Linked DNA regions of Homo sapiens: all the other regions are linked to region 3. Evidence: promoter capture Hi-C in human tissues and cell types (Jung and others, 2019). All regions are on one chromosome and are shown on one strand. Each heading gives the region's core, a stretch centred on a gene start or on the middle of the fragment in contact. The rest is flanking DNA. Distances are from core to core; before and after follow the strand shown. Region 1 overlaps UQCRC2 (ubiquinol-cytochrome c reductase core protein 2). Region 2 overlaps MOSMO (modulator of smoothened). Region 3 holds the start of PDZD9 (PDZ domain containing 9).

Evidence for each region. Contacts are between HindIII fragments. The study calls those that stand out against the background at their distance.
Region 1: a contact is called between a fragment that was not itself captured here and the fragment with the promoter of PDZD9 in region 3, in 3 of the 25 tissues and cell types used here (dorsolateral prefrontal cortex, lymphoblastoid cells and stomach).
Region 2: a contact is called between a fragment that was not itself captured here and the fragment with the promoter of PDZD9 in region 3, in 3 of the 25 tissues and cell types used here (lymphoblastoid cells, mesendoderm cells and small bowel).

The regions. Positions count from the first base shown.
Region 1 is chr16:21,956,989-21,960,649 of GRCh38, forward strand. UQCRC2 (ubiquinol-cytochrome c reductase core protein 2) reads left to right here. Exons shown (of 14, transcript NM_003366.4): 2 at 247-330; 3 at 429-578; 4 at 1,547-1,611. It also overlaps a transcript of PDZD9 not described here. Among named protein-coding and RNA genes, the nearest start is that of UQCRC2, 5.5 kb to the left of the region's middle. The HindIII fragment of the contact is 3,067 bases long and covers 469-3,535 here.
Region 2 is chr16:22,036,830-22,040,137 of GRCh38, forward strand. The region is part of intron 1 of MOSMO (modulator of smoothened); the gene reads left to right. Among named protein-coding and RNA genes, the nearest start is that of MOSMO, 30 kb to the left of the region's middle. The HindIII fragment of the contact is 3,291 bases long and covers 70-3,308 here.
Region 3 is chr16:21,999,574-22,002,832 of GRCh38, forward strand. PDZD9 (PDZ domain containing 9) reads right to left here and starts at 1,543. Exons shown (of 4, transcript NM_001363519.1): 1 at 1,444-1,543. The coding sequence starts at 1,474. RefSeq lists an enhancer at 1,689-1,738. The HindIII fragment of the contact is 5,621 bases long and covers 609-3,259 here.

The DNA of each region.
Region 1 (3,661 bases), core at 752-3,251, 42 kb before region 3:
AACCCAGGAGGTAGAGGTTGCAGTGAGCTGAGATTGCGCCACTGCACTCCAGCCTGAGCGACAGAGAGACACTCTGTCTCAAAAAAAAAAAAAAAATGTTATGCAGGTAAATCCTCCCATGGAGGTGGTTATTGCTCCTTCCACCCCCGAACACCCTCTGTCGCTTGGGTACCCTAAGATACCATGCTTTTATATAAAGCACTGTTCTTGTGAGAAATACGTGTAACCTGTGTTTTTTATGTTTAGAGATTTTATTCCCTCAAAGTTGCCCCCAAAGTTAAAGCCACAGCTGCGCCTGCAGGAGCACCGCCACAACCTCAGGACCTTGAGGTTAGTCCCACTAACTTGCTCGCTGGAAGCTATACATGCCTTACTCTCCTTGGTAATACGAAGACATTCATTATATCTCTACTTTATTTTAAATACAGTTTACCAAGTTACCAAATGGCTTGGTGATTGCTTCTTTGGAAAACTATTCTCCTGTATCAAGAATTGGTTTGTTCATTAAAGCAGGCAGTAGATATGAGGACTTCAGCAATTTAGGAACCACCCATTTGCTGCGTCTTACATCCAGTCTGGTGAGTATCTTCACTTCCTCAAGTGTTTGGAAATGCTGTGGTATCTTGGTCCTGTGAAAAAGAAAAACTAAGATCAATGTCTTTATATTTTGATTCCTTGACCTGCCATAACAAATTACCACGGACTGGGTAGCTTAAACCAAATAAGTTTATCCTGTTACAGTTCTAGAGGCTAGAAGTCCAAGTCAAGGTGTCTAAGCCAAGCCAAGATATCAGCAGGGCTGTGATCCCTCTAAAGGTTCTAGGAAGGCACAAATCCTCCCCTGCCTGTTCCTAGCTTCCAGCAGTTGCCCACAACCCTTCATGTTCCTTGACCTGCAACTGCATCACTGCAGTCTCTGCCTTTGTTGTCACATGGCCTTCCTTCTGTCTGTGTCCACATTTCCTCCTGATAAGGATACCAGTTACATTAGATTTAGTGCCCACTATAATTCAATATGATGTCATCTTAAGTACTTAAATCTGCAGAGACCTTATTACCAAATAAAGTAACATGCAAATATTCTGGCTGGACATAAATTTGGGGGGGAACACTGTTAAACCCAGTACTGTCCCCTAATGTAAAATGAGAAACCACAAGATATTTGCCACAGAGAAGCACTAAATTAGTATCCATATGAATGTTGATGTTAGAGCATAAGAAATCAGTAAACAAATTTTTAACAGGAAGTGCCGCAAATTGAAAGAAAATTAACTCTTTTTTTCCCATATACAAGTCTCTTTCAGAATAGACTAATGAATCCAGTAAGCTTGTATTTGACAGTGGAAATTTTACATGAATGTACTTAATGTAAAAATGTATACTTAAGCTTTTTGTTGAGCCTTGTTTTATAATTCTTAACTAAAAAGGATGCAGGAATTTAGTAAAATTCTTTTTAAATCTGCTCACAACAGATTTTGATATAGTGTGATGTTTGGCAAACTTGGCATTGAAAAGCTACAAAGATAATCATTCTTTCTTTTTCAAGACGACAAAAGGAGCTTCATCTTTCAAGATAACCCGTGGAATTGAAGCAGTTGGTGGCAAATTAAGGTTTGTTAAATAAGTAATAGAAAATAGTGAAAATGCCAGAAAATATTCAATTTTAAGGGAACTTTTCTCTGTTATCAAGGAGGTTGAGGATTTCTTAAGCAACATAAGAAGGAAAAGACTGATGAATTTGAGTATATCAAACTGTAAAACATCTTTATGTCTTAAAGTAAAAATTTAAGTAACTGTCTGGGAGTAGATATCTGCAATATATAGGCATACCTCAGAGATGTTGCAGGTTCTGTTCCAGACCACCACAATGAAGGGAATATTGCAGCAAAGCAAGTCATAGGAATTTTGTGGTTTCCCAGTGCATATAAAAGTTATGTTTACACTATACTGTGGTCTACTAAGTGTACAATGACATTTTGTCTTGGAAAAAAAGTACATAACCTTAATTTTAAAATATTTTATTGCTTTAAAAATGTTAACAGTTATCTGAATCTTCAGCAAGTCATAATCTTTGCTGGTGGAGGGTCTTGCCTCCACGTTAATGGCTGATGACTGATCAAGGTGGTGGTTGCTGAAGGTGGTGGTGACTGATAATTTCTTAAAATCAGACAACAGTGAAGTTTGCTGCATTGATTGACTCTTCCTTTTGTGAAAGACTTCTCTGTAGCATGAGATGTTGTTTTTAGCCGTTTACCCACAGAACTTCTTTCAAAATTAGTCAGTCATCTCAAACCTTACCACTTTTTTATCAACCAAGATTATGTAATATTCTTTTTTATCATTTCGACAGTGTTCACAGCATCTTCAACCAGGAGCAGATTCTATCTCAAGAAACCACTTTGTTTGCTCATCCATAAGAAGCATCTCCTCATCTGTTCAAGCTTTATCATAAGATTGCAGCCATTCAGTCACATCTTCAGGCCCCACTTCTAGTTCTCTTGCTACTCCCACCATAGTTGCAGTTTCTTCCCCCTCTGAAGTCTTGCCTCTCAGAGTCATCCATAAGGGTTGGAATTGGCTTCTTCCAAACTCACGTTAATGTTGATACTTTGACATCCTCCCATGAGTCACAAATGTTCTTAATGGTGTCTAGAATGGTGAATTCTTTCCAGAAAGTTTTTTAATTTACTTTGCCCAGATCCATCAGCGTCTTCACTATCTGTGGTAGCTGTAGCCTTACAAAATGTATTTCTTAAATAATAAGACTTGAAAATAAAAATTACTCCTTGATCCATGGGGTGCAGAAGGGATGTTCTATTAGCAGGCATGAAAACAGTGTCAATCTCCTTGTACATCTGCATCAGAGCTCTTGGCATTGTTGCAGTAATAATTTGAAAGGAATCTTTTTTCTGAGCAATGGGCTTAAAATATTCAGTCAACCATGCTATAAACAGATGTACTATCATCCAGGCTTTTTTGTTCATTTACAGAGCATAGGCAGAGTAGATTTAGCATAATTCCTAAGGGCTCTAGGATTTTGAGAATGGTAAATGACCTCATCCTAAAGTCACCAGCTGCATTAGTCCCCAACAAGAGTCAGCTTGTCGTTTGAAGCTTTGACGCCAGGCATTGACTTCTCTAGCTACGAATGTCCTGGACGGCATCTTCCAATGTAAGGCTGTTTTGTCAGCATTGAAAATCTGTGGTTTAGTGTAGCCACCTTCATCGATGATCTTATGTAGATCTTCTGGATAACGTGCTGCAGCTTCTATATTAGCATTTGCTGCTTCACTGTGTACTATTATATTAAGAAGATGGCTTCTTTCCTTAAAGCTCATGAACTAACCACGGCTAGCTTCAGACTTTTCTTCTGCATCTCACCTCTCTCAGCCTTCATATAATTGAAGAGAGTTAGGGCATTGCTCTGGATTAAGCTTTGACTTAAGGGAATACAGTTTGATCTAATCCAGACCAGTAAAACTCTGTATTATCAGCAATAAGTCTGTCTTGCTTTCATATCATTTATGTGTTCAGTGGAGTAGCACTATTAGTTTTCTTCAAGAACTGCACTGGTGCAAGAGGCCTAGCTTTTGACCTGTATCCGTTTTTAACATGCCTTCCTGACTTCCTTAGAAGCTTAATCCTTTCTAGCTTCTGATTT
Region 2 (3,308 bases), core at 465-2,964, 37 kb after region 3:
AAGGGCAGTAGGAGGCTATTTTAATATGAATCCTGAATTTAATATTTTGAATTTGAAGAGGTTGTCAAACCAGAGAATCTGCCTAGTGGGCAGGTGAAACTCATAAGTCAGACTAGGATTGGAGATACAGAATGAAAAGTCATCAGCCTATGACTGATTTTGGAAGCTATTGTAGGAATATTTTCCAGGGAGAGTAAGAAGAGTAAGGAGAAACAAGAGAACCCAGGAAAGAACCCTGAAGGTCACCAGCATTTTAAGGATGCTGAGAAAAAGCTAGACTCAAGAGGAAAACCAGCCAGGCATGTTGGCTCGTGCCTATAGTCCTAGCTACTGGAAAGGCTGAGGTGGGAGGATCACTTGAACCCAGGTGTTCAAGGTTGCAGTGAGCTATGGACTACACCACTGCACTCCAGTCTGGGTGACAGAATGAGACTTGGTCTCTAAAAAGGAAAACGAAACAAAAATTTGATACTATAGAAGCCACGGGAAAATGTATTTGCAAGAAGAAAGAAGTGGTTGGCAGTCTTGGCCAAAAAGGAATTAAGGTATGAAATCAGTTTCTCCAACTATGCTCTCACAACACGGAAAACTTCTGTGACCAAGTGTGTGTTTTTCCTGCACTCACCAAGCAATTCTACGGCAAGTATCAGCTGGGTGTCCTGTAATTCAACTCAGTTCTGTTGCCATCTACCTGGCATATAGATCCCATAGATTGAGGGGTCAAACCTACAAGCTGCCCCCAATCCTAAGCCAGTTGCAAGCCTCGGGTTGTTTTTACCTGTGCTTCTGATCAACTGGTTAGAAATCAACTTTCCCATCACCTCCTCCTCAGTTTCAACTACTTTGCTGGGACAGCTCACAGAACTCAGGGAAATACTTACTTACCTTTACTGGTTTATTATGAAGGATACTACAAAGAATACAGATGAAGAGATGAATAGGGCAAGGCATGTGGGAAGGGGCGGGAAGCTTCCGTGCCCTCTCCTGGCATACCACCCTCCAGGAAGCTCCATGTGTTTAGCTACCCAGAAGCTCTTTGAGCCCAATCCTTTTGGGGTCTTGTGGAAGCTTCATTACATAGGCATGATTGATTAAATCCTTGGCCATTGACGAGCAATTCAACCTTTAGCCCCTCTCCCTTACCTGGATGTTGGCAAGGTGGGACTGAAAGTCCCAGTCTTCTAATCATGCCTTGATCTTTCCCATGACCAGCCCCCATCCTGAAGCTACATAGGGGCTGCCAGCCACCAGCCATCTCATTAGCTACAAAAGAAACTCTCATCACTCTGGAAATCCCAGGGATCTCAGGGGCTGTGTTGGGAAGCCTGATGAAAATCAAATATTTATTTCACAGTATAACAAGATGAAATTGAAAAGTACATTAGTCTTAAAGAGATTGTTAATAGCCTTGGAGAGAGACGTTTCAGAGAAGTGGTAAAGTAGGAGCCTCATTCACAGTGGGTTGCAAAATAACTAGTAGGGAGAGTAAGACAACAGTGAAGATGGAATTTTGCCTGTGCAAGGGATAGTGAGGTTAGTCAACATCCATCGTAATGAGAAGGAGCCAGCAGAGAGGGAGGGATTGATAATGCACCAAAGTTGATAGATCAAGGACCCTAATAGTACCAGAGTGGTAAAGCATAACAGAGGGATAGATTTTAGGAGACAAGAAACACTTTGTGACATGAGGAAAGGAAGTGAGGACCAATGAAGATGAAGTTAGGTTACAGATAATGGTGGTAGGAAATTGAGGGAGTCCACCTCTGTGACTTATAGAGATAACAAGAAGGGTCACTTGCTAGGAGTGAAATGGGAGTGATAATACTGGTAGGAAGTTTGAAAAGAGTATATATTTTAAAAATGGTTGAAAAGCTACTGTACAGAATAAGAGAGAGCCAGCTAAAAAAACAGATTTCTGGGTTGTATTGAGGGGCTAGTTGGGTCCATAAAGCATAAATTTTTTAATGATGCCAATCTTACAGTTATGTACTTTTATCCAGCAGAGTTTAGTAGTCTGGGTAGAGATGTGGGAAAGGAGACCATTGTGTTCATCCAAAACTGACATGGGAGAAAGCAATGACATGGGAGAAAGCAATGAATGAACTAAGCATAGTGCTCTGTAATAGACATTGAAGTCAGGTCTCAGGTCTAATCTTGACTGCTTAGTGAGTTAGGCAGATTACTTAACCTTCTCTCAGCTTCAGTTTCCTAATAATCATACTGAATCATATCAGTTTTCTAATCATAATCATCTATTCAGGCAGATTATTCAACCTTCTCTAAGCTTCAGTTTCCTAACAATAATCATACTGAATCATATCAGTTTTCTAATGATAATAATCTGTTCTCAGTGATGGGAATTAAATGGACAAGTGAACTCCTTAACGCATAGTTTGGGATACATGATACATGTCAATAAGTAGCAGTTTTTAACATTATTTGTGACCCAATTCTGTCACTTATAAGCTAGGTGACCTTAGGCAAGTTTCTTTCCTTTTTATCTATAAAAAGGAAATTATAATACTTGTTAGGGATTTTCAGCTGGGTATATTTTGAGGAAAAGATGTCAAGCTCTACGCCTGATACAGCCTTTAACAACTCAGTAAATGCTAGTTGAAGCAGAATCTGTAAGGAATTTTTTAGAAAATTAGGTTGGAAAGTTAGGTTTGGAATTTTGGCCTTTGTCTTATCATTAGTAGGGTATCTTTAAAAGTTCATGAGCAGGCTGGGCATGGTGGCTCATACATGTCCTAGCACTTTGGGGGGCCAAGGTGGGAGGATTGCTTGAGGCCAGGAGTTCGAGACCAGCCTGGCCAACATAATGAGTCCTTGTCTCTTACAAAAAAAGAATTCATGAGCCAGGAGATAACATAAAAGTGGTATTTTAGAAATATGCATTTATAAGTAGTGTGGTAGGATCTATGTCTCAGCTGGATATCTCCTTTTCAGACAGGCCTTCCCTAACCACCCTGAATCTAAGATAGCAGCACTCCCTCCTCCTATCTAATGCCTTACCCTGTATGATTTTTCTTATGGCATTTATGACTGCAATTACCTTGCTTATTAATATGTTCACTTTTTTACTGGCTCCCTCCACTAGAATATATGCTTCATGAGAAAAGAAATATTATCTGTCTTACTACTGCTATATCTCAGCACCCAGAATGTGCCTAGCACATGGAAGGCATTGGATCTGTTTGTTGAATGAATGAAATATAGTAGGAACTGGAAGTAGAGAAACTAGTTAAGAAATTATTGGAATGATTTCAACATTAGGACATAAAGATCTGGACAGGAATAATGATAGC
Region 3 (3,259 bases), core at 293-2,792:
CAGCCTCTTTGCCAACCTCAAGTCTTATCAAATCCTGATGCTGTGCGGAAAAAAGCCATAAAGAACAAGAATTGCTCAGTGCAGGAGTCTGCATCCTTCAGTAAGCCCACCTGGGGGCTAGCAGAAGTATAAAGTGATTAGAGCCTGGGCAACATAGTGACACCTCATCTCTTCTATTTAGGCTGGGCATGGTGGCTCACACCTGTAATCCCAGCACTTTGGGAGGCCGAGGGTGGGCGGATCACTTGGGGTCAGGAGTTCGAGACCAGCCTGGCCAGCATGGTGAAACACCGTTGCTACTGAAAACACAAAAATCAGCCAGGCGTGGTGGTTCACGCCTGTAATCCAAGCTACTCTGGAGGCTGAGGGGCAAGAATCGCTTGAACCCGCCTGGAAGGCGGGGGTTGCAGTAAGCCAAGATCATGCCGCTGCACTCTAGCCTGGGTCACAGAGCAAGACTCTGTCTCAAAAAAAAAAAAAAAATTAGCTGAATGTGGTGGTGCATGCCTACAGTCCCAGCTATGGGAGGCTGATGCAGGAGGATTGCTTGAGCCCAAGAATTGGAGGCTGCAGTGAGCCAGGAGCATACCACTGCACTCCAGCCTGAGCGACAGAACAAGACTCTGTCTCTAAAAATAAAATACAGTGACCCATATGCTATTTTAAGATTTATGTGCCCTTTTAATAAAAATGAAAGGGCCAAAGTCCCTATTTACATTGGTATAATTTTTTAAAGGCTCCTTACTATGTGATTTCATTTTTATGATGTTCTCCATGGAAAAGGCAAAAAAAAAAAAACGCTGTAAAAAACAGATGGGGGTGTGAGGAGCTGCAGTGGGGTGGGGTTTGGCTGCAACTGGGCATTGCAAAGTAATTTTAGGGAGTGGTGGAACTGTTCCCTATCTTGATGGAGGGGGTGGTTCAACGTGGGTATAGCTTGTCAAAACGGTAGCTGTACTTTTAAAAGGGGGGATCTTACTGCATGGAAATTATACCTTGATAAAAATAACGATGGCCAAGGCGGGCGGATCACTTGAGGTCAGGAGTTTGAGACCAGCCTGGCCAACATGGTGAAATCCCATCTCTACTAAAAATAAAAAATTAGCTGGGCATGGTGGCAGGCACCTGTAATCCCAGCTACTCGGGAGGCTAAGGCAGAGGAATCACTTGAGCCTGGGAGGCAGAGGTTGCAGTGAGCTGAGATCGCGCCACTGCACTCCAGCCTGGGGGACAAAGCAAGACTCCTTCTCAAATGATGATGATGATGATGATGATGATGATGATGATGATGATGATGATGATAATGATGATGATGATAACAACAACGATGGAGAGAGGTTATCTCCCAGGCCAAGAGTGCACCGTTGCCATTTTACAGAGGAGGAACATTGACGAAGGCTTGGTCCCCAGGGCTTCTTCACCCGCTTCCTTCTCCCCAGTTACCTTTTTTGTTTTTGTGGGAGGCCTTCTGCATGGTCCCGGGAGGTCAGGCAGCCCGGGAGGGCCTCCCGGAGCAGAGGCTGGAGTCAGTCCCAATGCCAACAGTTTCGAACCTTGCCCGCGGGCACTGCCCTCGGGATGGCCGCCAGGGGGCGCTGCGCCGCCACTGCCCAGAAATTGGGCGGCAGTGAGGTCGCCGCAAGGCTTCCCGTGGACCCTGCAAAACGTGGCGTGGGCATTGCACACCATTGTACTGTATGGAAACTTCTGCAGAGGTTAGCACCGTGCCTGACCCACGGTGGTTTCTTCATTCCTTCTTTTCTTTTTCTTTTTTTAAGAGACGGGCAGGGGGTGGGGGTCTCACTATGTTGCTCAGGCTCAACACAACTGTTGCACTATGGGCTCAAGCGATCTGCCCGCCTCAGCCTCCCAAAGTGCTGGGATTACAGGCATGAGCCACCGCGCTTGGCTTCTTCATTCATTCTTGGTGAACCTAAGAAATAGGGAGGGGGAGAAGGCACAGAGGAGGGTGTCTCAAAGATGTGAGGTGGTCTGCAGAGGAAGATCACAGCCAGAAGATCACAGGAGATCACAGAATACCTAGAAGATCAGAGAATCCCCCGCTGCACTTCTAATAATGGTATTTTAAAAAAATTGTTACATCAGTAGCTCCAATGCTTTGGAACTGCACTTTTTTTCATGAATGTTTTGAATAAGAAAAGGCCCCAGGGTGGCCTAAAAAAAAATGAGTCACTATTAGGAGAGGCACTATTAATGCTTCCTTCTTTTTTCCAAGATAATTCTTCCTCCCACACACATTCACTCATACAACAAGTATTTACAGGGAGCTGTTCTGTCATTTACTGATACTGGGGACACAACAGTAAGCAAGACAAACACAGAAACACAGGCTCTATCCTCTTGAAACCTGTACTTAAAAAACAGATGAAGTGGACAATTTTAGGAAAATATAAATTATTAAAAATAAATTCTAGGCCAGGTGTGGTGTCTAACACCTGTAATCCTAGGTACTCAGGAGACTGAGGCAGGAGGACTGCTTGAGCCCAGGAGTTTGAGATCAGCCTGGGCAACATAGTGAGACCCTTTCTCTATAAAAAAAATTTAAAAATTAGCTGGGCATGGTGGTGCACATCTGTAGTCCTAGCTACTCAGGAGGCTGAGATGGGAGGATCACTTGAGCCCAGGATTCAAGGCTGCAGTGAGCTATGATTGAGTCACCACCTTCCAGCCTGGGTGATGGAGCAAGATCCTGTCTCAAAAAATAAAAATGAATAAATGAGTTAGTAAATTCTAGAAGAAAGAGAAAACCTAATGAGGTAGGCCCTGGTGTTATCCCCGGTCTGATGAAACTGAGAGGCTAAGCACCTTGCCCCATCCCTTCAACAAACAGTCATTAACCACCTATTAGGTGTCAGGCACTGTGCAAAGATTTCCATGGTAGATCTGGTTATGTCCAAGCTTATTCTGTTGTTTCTGTGGCTCTACACAGACAATAAGCCAGGGCAGATTCCTCTTTAGGTTCCTTTTTTTTTTTTTTTTTTTTGAGATGGGGTCTCATTCTGTCACCCAGGCTGGAGTGCAGTGACAAAATCTCAGCTCACTGCAACCTCCGCCTTCCAGGCCCAAGCGATCCTTCCACCTCAGCCACCAGAGTAGCTGGGACCACAAGCCTGTGTCACCACGCCCAGCTAATTTTTGTATTTTTAGTAGAGACAGGGTTTTGCCATGTTGGCCAGACTGGTCTCCAACTCCTGAGCTCAGGGTGATCCACCCGCCTTGGCCTCCCAAAGTGCTGGGA